Linked DNA regions of Homo sapiens: regions 1 and 3 are each linked to region 2. Evidence: promoter capture Hi-C in 16 types of primary human blood cells and fetal thymus (Javierre and others, 2016). All regions are on one chromosome and are shown on one strand. Each heading gives the region's core, a stretch centred on a gene start or on the middle of the fragment in contact. The rest is flanking DNA. Distances are from core to core; before and after follow the strand shown.

Region 1 (3,380 bases), core at 667-3,166, 1.6 Mb after region 2:
GTGTTCAAAGCCGATGATCAAACAAAAGTAAGTGAGATGGAGATCCAAAAGACTAAGGTGTGGCTGGCTGGTTTTTATTGTATGGGGGTCAGGATATTTATTTTAAGTATACTGAAATGAATAAGGAATTAATGCTGCAGTTATAAATTGATTACTTAGCTGAATTTTTGTTTTATGGTGATAGTTTATAGTTTTAAAGCACATTTGAAAACAGATACGAGAAATTATCAGTTTTTGAGTTCAAAAATTCAAGAGAAATCAGTCTAAAACTACTAATTAAGAGCAGAAGTGTTAAGATGTACATTATTTCAGATGAATGTTCTAAAGCCATGCCTCTCAAACTGAAATGAGCTTGTGAGTCACCTGGGGATCTTGTTAAAATGTGAATCTTGATTCAGTAGGTCTGGGGTGGACCCCAAGACTGCATTTGTAACAAGCTGCCAAGAAATGCTGATGCTGCCCTTTTGCAGGTTGCACTTTGAGTGGCAAAGTTCTAAATCTCCACATTTGTAATCCTATTAAGAAAAATATAGTCATTCGTAAACTGTGTAAAAATGCTACTGGCCAGTTTCCCAAGGCATAATGTTCACTTAGGCAAAGGTCATTGATAAGAACGCTGGATATGCATCTAAGTTTTGATGCGATCAGGGGTTCTTTGTGTTTTTTTCTTTCGCAAACCTCAGGTCAGATCTGATTAGCTTGTTATTATCACATGATATGGCTGAAAAAAAATGTGAGACATGGTAAAAGTTCTGCTCTTTCCTCGTTCATTTGTGCTTGCTTTGTTATTAGCATTCGTTGTAGCTCTGGGCAGGACTCATTTGAAGATGCTTGCCCATTTTATGAGGATTAGCTTAGATAAAATTGAAAATATAATGCAAATAGCAACTTTCTCAGTTGGGCTCAGGGCTCCACAGCTAACCCCATGGACTGTGGAGTCTTGCCGTTGTTTTGGGTGCCAAGCAAGCCAAGTCACATGTGATTCAAGCTGTCTGCCACATGTACAGGGCGAGGATGCGAGTGTCAATCCACCTGTTAACTGTCAGTGAAGCCTTGAAAGCTTCTCATATTTTCAAGGTTAAAATCTGGATAGAAATGCTAAAGTTTTCTCTCTGCACTCCATTAGGTTATTTTATGTACTCTCTAGGGTGTAAGGACCTTATTTAGAAATTAATATTCTTGGTATCAAGTAGATGCCCTTTTGCTTGTTCATTTGTTGGTTCTTCTAGTCATTCAGAATTGCTGTTGCAGGTACTGTTGGAGATGATATTAGCAGAGGCTTGTAGGAAGGCAGGAGCATCAGTGGGGAATAGGACCAGGTGATCTATGTATAGGACATAATGGAAGGACTGAGAAGGGAGCCTAACACACACCCAAAGGGTAGAGAAGGCTTTGTGAAATAAAGGCTAATATGGAGCTCAAAACCACCATTTCACTCACAGAATCAAACTCTCATATTATAAATCATTTCATGTTATTGTCCACACATCTCAAGTGGGCACGGCAGCATCAGGCTTGGAGATTCAGAGGGACTAACTTCCTGTACTCTAATCCTACTTCTGCACCCATAAACTGGGTGGCCTCAGGCAATTGAGTCTGTTTTCTTATCTGTTAAATGGGGATAATTACAGTATTTATCCAATAGAGTTGCTGGAAAGACTAAATGAGGTAGCACTCGACCTGAAACTTAGTAAGCATTTATAGCCATAAAAACATTTTCATTCAAGAAAATTTTACTAGAGGCAGATTATATGCTAATTTCATTTCACGTCTTAGGTAAAAAGAAACATGATACCTAGATGAGTGCCTTCAGCTTTCAAAGATGAGATTCTGGTCATATTTGAGGAACATTTTAAAAACTACACGTATAACTTAATGGCTCCTATTATTTGGACAAATTCCAGAATGAAAATGAGAGGACTGAACAGCCTGTACCTCAGTCCAGCTCTATATAGTATTTGGACTGAATTTCCTTGGGGAGAGTTTGTGCGTGGAATCGTTGTTCAGCATTTTACACATTTGACTCTTTCCCAAAATCTTTTACGGCCATCTGAGAATAGGCTTCTGGCCAGTCATTCGGATGCCTGACAAGAGAAAGAGATTTATAACCAAATTCTGTAATTGGGACTTCCAGTCTTTCCCCAAGTAGAGAATTGGACTTACTCTATATGCTAAAAACCCATGGTTGAAATATGAATTAGTTCTTAAGTGATTTTTGGCTTGCATACCATTTTTGCAAACACAAATTGTCATTACTCTGCTCATTTAATAAAAGAATAATTTGTAGTATAGGTATATACCTCAATCAGTGATTTTGTTGTTGGAAACAGAACAGTAAATCACACTGGCCATGATGCTAACAGCGTGATAGATTTTCTGTTCTTGGGACACCAATGTCACTGTATCTCATAGCGAAGGATTATCTGCTGTAGGAGCATTCTCTTGACTACTTATAACATTTGCTGGGTGAAATAATTCTCCAGGTTAAGGCCTCTTCTAAACAGATGAGGTCAGCACTAACTGCATTTGCCAGAGAAGACATATGCATTTACTGCCAGCATCATAAACACAAAACTACAGTTTGCGAGGAAACCCTTTGACCAGCATCTAATTAATTCACTGAGTAATGTCTTGGGAGAAGAGGCATGTAAAGGAACAATTTTATAAGCATGCCATGAGATTGTTTTCTATTGTATGTTCCATAGAATATGAGGAAACTTCAAAACATTTTGTGGAAAAATTGAATTAAAAAGTAAAAAACACATATATACATAAGCTTTATTTCTCAAGATAAACTTTATCAAGTTCAAGACACTTTTGTAAGCAATGTTAACAGCCATTGAGTCGGTCTCTAAAGAACTGAGGGTCCTGGGAATTTAACCATGTTTATACAGTCTTTTATACATTATTAACTGGAGAAAAATTGGCGCTCTTTAAAGATTTTTTAAAATTGAGAAGCAAAAGGACGTCAGAAGGAGCCAAATTAGGCCTGTAAGGTGGATGCCTAATGATTTCCCATGGAAACTCTTGCAAAATTGCTCCTGTTTGATGAGAGGAATGAGCAGGAACATTGTCATGGTGGACAAGGACTCTGGTGAAGCTTTCCCAGGCGATTTTCTGCTAAAGCTTTGGCTAACTTTCTCAAAACACTCTCATGATAAACAGATGTTATCATTCTTTGGCCCTCCAGAAAGTCAACAAACAAAATGCCTTGGGCATCCCAAAAAACTATTGCAACCATTTGCCCTTGACCAGTCCACTTTCGCTTTGACTGGACCACTTCTGCTCTCAGTAGCCATTGCTTAAATTTGTCTTGATCTTTAGGATTGCGCTGGTAAAACTATGTTTCATCACCTGTTACAATTCTTTGAAGAAATGCT
Region 2 (3,354 bases), core at 672-3,171:
GTTTTATACAGACCTTCGAGCCTCCTAACTCTTATATCTCTGTCATCTAATACATCTGCATCTCTACAGCACAGATTTCATCACATTGCAGTCTGATTCAAATATATTCAATTTCTGTCTTATCTGTAAACCAAAATTCTAATTTCTTCTCCTCACTATCTACAATTACTGAACTCTTCATTTGTCACCTCTGACTCGTTAACTGAACCTTCCTCCAAAGCCATACTTTTACATTTTTGATCCTACTGTGTAATCTCATGCCTCCGTGACTTTGATCATATTATTTCCTATGCTGGAATATTTTTTTTCTTTTACTCCATAGCCTGCTTATCCTTTAGTTTCTAATTCAAACATTTTCCAGGCCTCTAAGCAGAATTATTTTTTTAACTCCTCAAAGCTTTTATGATACTTTTTCTTTATACTTCTGCTCTAGCTCTCAACACAGACTAAGCTTTATTTCAATAATCTGTTCATGCATCTGTCTCTTGAAATCCTAAAAAGGCCTGACCTCCAGCACTTAGTTCCTGTCCCACAGTAAATGCTATAGGAAGTTTTCAAAATTAGCATTGAATTAAAGCCATGTGTACATTATTATTGAGAATGACACATCCATTTAAGGAGTAAGAAAAGAAAATAGAATTGAATGAGTGAGTCTTTAGTTTGAGAAGATTTAAATGATCCAATCCATGAAGTGATATGAACTCATACTGCGAAAAAGGTCCCCTTTTCAGTGAACAGAAGTTAACTGAAAAATAAGACACTTAGTGGTGAAGGAGCCCCTCTCCACTCTGCAGCCACCAGTACTCAATACTGCTCCTTTCCTTCAGGGTCTTTGACAGTCTTTAGGGCAGTGGCAGTCATTCTTCATTATTTATTCTCTGGGCTTGTTTTTCCCATCTTGTCTTCCAGGTGCCCTGAGTGTAGCTCTTAGAACTCCAGGGCTTAAGATGAGATAATGTGTTGCCTGTGGGAGGGAAGCACTCCGGCTTCCACTTGAAAAGCTTTCATTTTGTTCCAGTACCCGAGGGAACATGAGCCTCTCTGGAATGTACTTGCTGCCCTCTTCCTTTGGCTTAGGTGTGTGTTCTCTCTGAGCAGTGGGATTGGAGAGAGGGAGGCAGACTGTTCTGGTTTCCTCCAAATACCCGCAAGTGCTGCATTGCATAGCCCCATATATGATGCGCTGGCAGGCAGATGGGCAGCAGTGGGGAGAGCTTGTTGTATCTGAATTTTAATTACATATGGTAAAGAATCCTTGCTAGTTTAGAGAAAGCTACTCTTCAGGTTTACTTTCTTTCAGTGAAGGGGCATTTTATCCAATTAGAGGGAAATTATCAGAGGCCAAGTTCTTATCTCAGTCTCTGCAGATTTACCACATAAGAAGATGCTAATTATAACTTCCTAACCAATGCAATAGGCTCTGCTCCAGTAGAGGAATCTTTTTAAACTCTTGGTTATAAAAATACTATACATATACACATTAATTAGAGTGAATTGTCAAGACCCCATGTGTAAACATATCCAGCTTCAACATTTATTAATTCTTACAGCAAATTTTATACCTCTACCCACCCCTATGCTCCCTGATTATTTAGAAGCAAAATCAGACATCACATTATTTCATTCATAAATATTTTTAAGTTTACAGGAATCCTGCCAGCAATATTGTTCATACAGTTTACCTTTGATTAATAAACTTCTTACCCTACCTGGAATCTGTATTTTGTTGCCTCAAAACTTGAAAAGTATTTGGTACTTCCACAGTATATTGAATTTGTAAAACTTACACAGAGAGTTGGATCATGTGAGTCAGCTCTACCCCAGTGATTAATGTATTCTGTACACAGTAGCACCCATGGTACAGGAACGCCCCTTCTTCGGTCACCTAGTAACTTTTCACTAGTCAACACCAAACTGAATAACCACTATGTTGTGAGAAAGTGCTGGGCTAGCTGACTCGGATCATCTCCTAGAGTTTAGGAGAAATAACAATCACAAAGTTTGAATTTGCAAAACCTTTAGGCTTTGCTGGCAGGAGAGAAAATACCACTTTTGGATCATAAAATGGATATGGAATACATGGGCTCAGGTAAACTGGGCCAAATATTGAAGCAGATTTGGAGACAAAACCAGATGCTAAAGCAGGCACTCTTGGGTGATGACCTTTGTGAGGGGGCTGGTGGGGCCACTTGGATGGCCACTGTGGTCTTTCTGGGTCAGGAACTCAGCAGTGCCCTTCACCAGCTGCTGGAGCACACCTCAGGCACCCTGCGTTCCACCTGCCAGCAGCTGCATGTGCTGCTTGACAAAGAGAATCAATGTGTCTCGAGAAAAGGCAAGTATTCTTTTTTTTAGTTTATTCTTTCTCTAAGAAATATTGATTAGGGCAAGATCTGAGAGGGGCTATGAGTATACCAGATAGGCTAAGATAGAGTTTCTGTCCACAAGAGACTAACAATTTCAAAGGGGAAATAAGTTGAGACAAATGCACAATAATGCCAGGGACATTGGGGCCAGTCCCATTAGAAACACATGAATGAAGTGCTTTTGGACTTCAGAAGCAGTTTAAATCCCATCTGTAGGGTGGGGAATTGAGAAGTTTGCTAGAAAAATGTAGTATTTAAGCTGAAGCTTAAAGAGTGAATTGGATTTATGCAGCAGGAAAGAGAGAGTCGGTAATTTTAGTAGGATCCAAGACTTAGAGACAGGAAAATACAGGCCACTGAGGCAGAGCTAGTAGTTTGTTTTTTATATCAGAATATAGTATTCTATCTCTAGGGTCATTTGAGCTTAGCCTTATTGATTGCAAAATTACTGGGAAGACTGGAGTGGGTTGGGATAGGGAATTGGATCCCCATGCACTGGGGCTGGAGAGGGATTCTTGGGAATAGGTCCAGTTATGGATGTGGAAAAGTACAGTAAGGCAGGAAGAATGTGGAATCTGATGAATATAATCCTAGATAACAACAGTTACTCCAGATAAGCATATAGGTGGCATCATGAAATTCAACTCTAAATAATACAGTATCAAGATAAGTGGGCAGGTTCCATCTATGAGGAAATCCAGGGTAGATGATGTTAAGAAATTCAATCTAAAGGGCAAATAGTGGGCATCAGGGAAATCTGTCTAAAGGCAGCATGACTGAGAAGCCATCAGCTGCAGCCCACAATGAGACCTTTAGCCTCTGGAGGGAGTGGAACATGGTCTTTGGCAATATAACAAGCAAATATATATTCAGAAAAAAACAAGGACTTGGTTACCAGAATAGGAGTTAAAAATAAAGACAAGTTCTCAGGTATAAGACAAAAACAAAACAAAACAAAACACAAGTTGTCAGAACTGGATCCCAAAGA
Region 3 (3,545 bases), core at 662-3,161, 1.1 Mb after region 2:
AAACCACAATGAGATATCATCTCACACTAGTAGGGATGACTATTATTGAAAACTCAAAAAACAACAGATGCTGGTGAGGCTGTAGGGAAAAGGGAAAGATTATACATTGTCGGTGGAAATGTAAATTAGTTCAGCCACTGTGTCAAAAGCAGTTTGGAGATTTCTGAAAGAACTGAGAACTACCATTCAACTCAGCAATATCATGACTGGGTATATATCCAAAAGAAAATAAGTCTTTCTACCAAAAAGACACATGTACTCACATGTTCATCACAGCACAATAGCAAAGAATCTAGGTGTCCACGTCTAGTGGATTGGATAAAGAAAATATGGTACATAAACACCATGGAATACTACACAGCCATAGAAAAGCAAGAAATTATGTTCTTTGTAGCAACATGGATGAAGCTGGATGCTATTTTCCTAAGTGGATTAACTCAGGAACAGAAAACCAAATACCACATGTTCTCACTTACAAGTGGGAACCAAAAATTGGGTACTCATGGACATAAAGCTGGCAACAATAGAAACTGGGGACTACTCAGCCACACACACATGCTGCCATCAGTGGCACAGAGAATGAGGGAGGGGGCAAGGGTTGAAAACTATTGGGTACTATGCTGAGCACCTGGGTGATGGGATCAGTCGTATCCCAAACCTCAGCATCATGCAATACAGCCAGGTAACAAACCTGCGTATGTATGCCCTGAATCTAAAATAAAAGTTGAAATTATATATAAAAAAGCAGACGGCCGGGCGCAGTGGCTCAGGCCTGTAATCCCAGCACTTTGGGAGGCCAAGGCGGGTGGATCATGAGGTCAGGAGTTCAAGACCAGCCTGGCCAACGTGGTGAAACCCCCTTTTCTACTAAAAATACAAAAAAAAAAAAAATTAGCTGGGAATGGTGGTGCATGCCTGTAATCCCAGCTACTCGGGAGGCTGAGGCAGGAGAATTGCTTGAACCAGGATCCAGGAGGCGGAGGTTGCAGTGAGCCAAGATCACACCACTGCATTCCAGCCTGGGCTACAGAGCGAGACTCTGTCTCAAAAACAAACAAACAAAAGTAGACAACTTACACTCTGCTGTCTTGAGCAACTAGAGTTTGAAAAGCTTAGTTACAGTATTGGAGAATCCGTCCCCACTCCACCATGTGTGTGGCATCCCTGGAGGATGCTCATAGCATCTCACTACAGTTCCTCAATCCGTAGTGTGGATGAGGTGGAAATTTGCTGTGGGAGAAGCATTGGCAGGTGACCCTAGAAGAGCCAAGCCTGATACCACGCATGCGATGAGAGGAGCACCATTACCACCAATGGAGGCAGGTAAGAGGTTCTTCTGTGACTTCACATTTAGAGGGGTGTTCCCATACAGCAGGCAAGAGGAATCTTGCCTGCAGTAGTATGCCTTGTCAACTCCCTGAGCTCTCAGTGAACCAACACCCATGTAGCATCCTCATCGGGGCTGTGAGATTACACACATATATAAACAAACACAATCTGTCAGCATTGAGTAAAGAAGCAGCAGAGACCAAAAGAATGGGCATATCACCATTGTTGCTTGAGTATAAGCAGATGTCAGAGCAGACTTCTACCTCCACTTACACACACACACACACACACACACACACACACACTGCCATCAGTGGCACAGCTAGCAGGGAACAGAGAATGGGTCATGCTCATACCCACCACAGGCAGCTCCTGGCAGTGGACCCTAAGCCCAGTATGCACAAAGTAAGAAGAAAGAAGCCCAGAGAGCTACATTTTGAACGGGGCCATATTTTAAACCAAAAATATGACAACTTAAGGGATTGAACTGTGAAATCTGTTGTTATTCAGCAAGTTTGTTTTTTCACTAGGCAGAAGAGTAAAGACAAGACAAAGTGTGTAGCTGTAACTGACAAAGACTAACATTCTATTTTTGTATATCACTGAGTTACTCTCAAACTTATAGCATATAGGTCAGTTCCTTCTCACCTTCTCATCACTCTCCTTCAGGTTAAATTATGTCTCCTTACAGTTTAGTTTCTTTAAATAATTTTTAGTAAAAGAAAACTATATGATGAGATTTCTTAAATCATTTGAAATAATTACAGTATTTTTAAAATCACTTAGCTTTGGAAAATATTTCACATTTATCCATATTCCAGTATGTTTGCTTTATCATTTTAGGTATACAAAACAAAATACACACATGAAAAATTTAAATAAGTACTTAATTTTCATTCATATTTTAAAGTGCAGGGGGGTTTGTATCATTTAGTTCTAACCTTTATAAGTACAGTTCTACCAACCAAAATGTATTTTAAAATGAGAAAACAGTCATTGATTTGAACTGGAAAGTCATCTAAATTAAACAGTCTAGCTTAAAAAGATCTTTCTTACAAATTTTATTTAAATAAAAATCTAAAGCCTCAGATTTTCCAGGTATTTTGCTCATATAGTCCAGAGAAACAAATATTTCTTTACTTATAAAAATGTTTGTCCAGTTGAAATCAACTAGTTATCATAGCTCTGAAATAGGTTTCAATAATTAGTGACTTGATATCACCAAAAGAGCTTTAGAATGGACAAACATGGAAAATTAGCTTTCTTCTCAACAGTATTTAATTGTCTGGTGAAAGCCAAGAGGGCCGTTGAAATAATTATTGCTAATATATTAAGTATTTCCACAGTAAACTTTTACTAACATATAAGCTATTTCTATAGCTTAAGCTTAGTTGGTGTAAGAAAGCATTTTTTTATGATAAAAAGAATTATGGAGAAAAAGTGGACGGGAGAGTACTCAGTCTCTTTATAATTTAATTGGTAAAGAAAAATGTTCACTTTTATAGCTGTAGTCCAAAGGACTTCTAAGTAGGCCAGCAACAACTTTTTAAAAAGGTAAAATGTAAACATCATGTTTTTAAAAAGACAGTAGGGCTGTGGAGACAAATGTGATTAGACACACTCAATTTCCAGAAGGAAATGAGTCATTTCTTGGTAAGCTGGCTTTACAGATAGAGGAACCCCCAAATCACTGGGAGTTTTCTCCATGAATGCTCAATGCTGAACATTGAGCAACATGGGAGGTTAGGAAGCTGGGATGGAAAGGCAGAATAAAGTCTCCAATAATATCTTGGTGTACAGGAGACAAAGTCCACTAGAATGTAGCACAAACATCTAACTGGTGTTGCCTTTGAGGCATTTTAATTCAAAGTAAGCAGAATCTAAAACTGCAACCGAGCCGCGGCCCAGTTCAGTTACTAATGGGAATGTGATAAGCCTCCCATTGCCCTATCAGTCTAACATAGGAAAGGAACCCCTAAATAACCATTATTTTAAAAATGAAGTTCAGAATACCATGAAAATTACAAGACATGCAAGGAATCAAGAAACTATGACTAATTTTAAAAGGAAGACTAAAGAATAGATGAAACAAGCAGAAAGATAACACAACTATTTTATTCACTGTAAATAATCTAAATCTTCCTATTAAATACAGGTTCAACTGTATGCGGTTTTCAAGAGTTCTCTTTAAAGGAAAGGGCATAAATCGGCTGAGA

Evidence for each region. The method cuts DNA at HindIII sites, captures the fragments that hold promoters and counts their contacts. A CHiCAGO score of 5 or more calls a contact.
Region 1: a fragment that was not itself captured here is called in contact with the fragment with the promoter of DTHD1 in region 2 in 1 of 17 cell types (M0 macrophages); the score reaches 7.5 in M0 macrophages.
Region 3: a contact is called between a fragment that was not itself captured here and the fragment with the promoter of DTHD1 in region 2, in 2 of 17 cell types (M1 macrophages and M2 macrophages). The highest score is 5.1, in M1 macrophages.

What each region holds. Positions count from the first base shown.
Region 1 is chr4:37,902,486-37,905,865 of GRCh38, forward strand. TBC1D1 (TBC1 domain family member 1) reads left to right here. Exons shown (of 22, transcript NM_001396959.1): 2 at 1-27. Among named protein-coding and RNA genes, the nearest start is that of TBC1D1, 13 kb to the left of the region's middle. The HindIII fragment of the contact is 1,716 bases long and covers 1,059-2,774 here.
Region 2 is chr4:36,279,695-36,283,048 of GRCh38, forward strand. It overlaps DTHD1 (death domain containing 1), which reads left to right and starts at 1,922. Exons shown (of 10, transcript NM_001170700.3): 1 at 1,922-2,335. The coding sequence starts at 2,065. The HindIII fragment of the contact is 1,630 bases long and covers 1,000-2,629 here.
Region 3 is chr4:37,363,092-37,366,636 of GRCh38, forward strand. The region is part of intron 3 of NWD2 (NACHT and WD repeat domain containing 2); the gene reads left to right. Among named protein-coding and RNA genes, the nearest start is that of PGCKA1, 89 kb to the right of the region's middle. The HindIII fragment of the contact is 1,604 bases long and covers 1,110-2,713 here.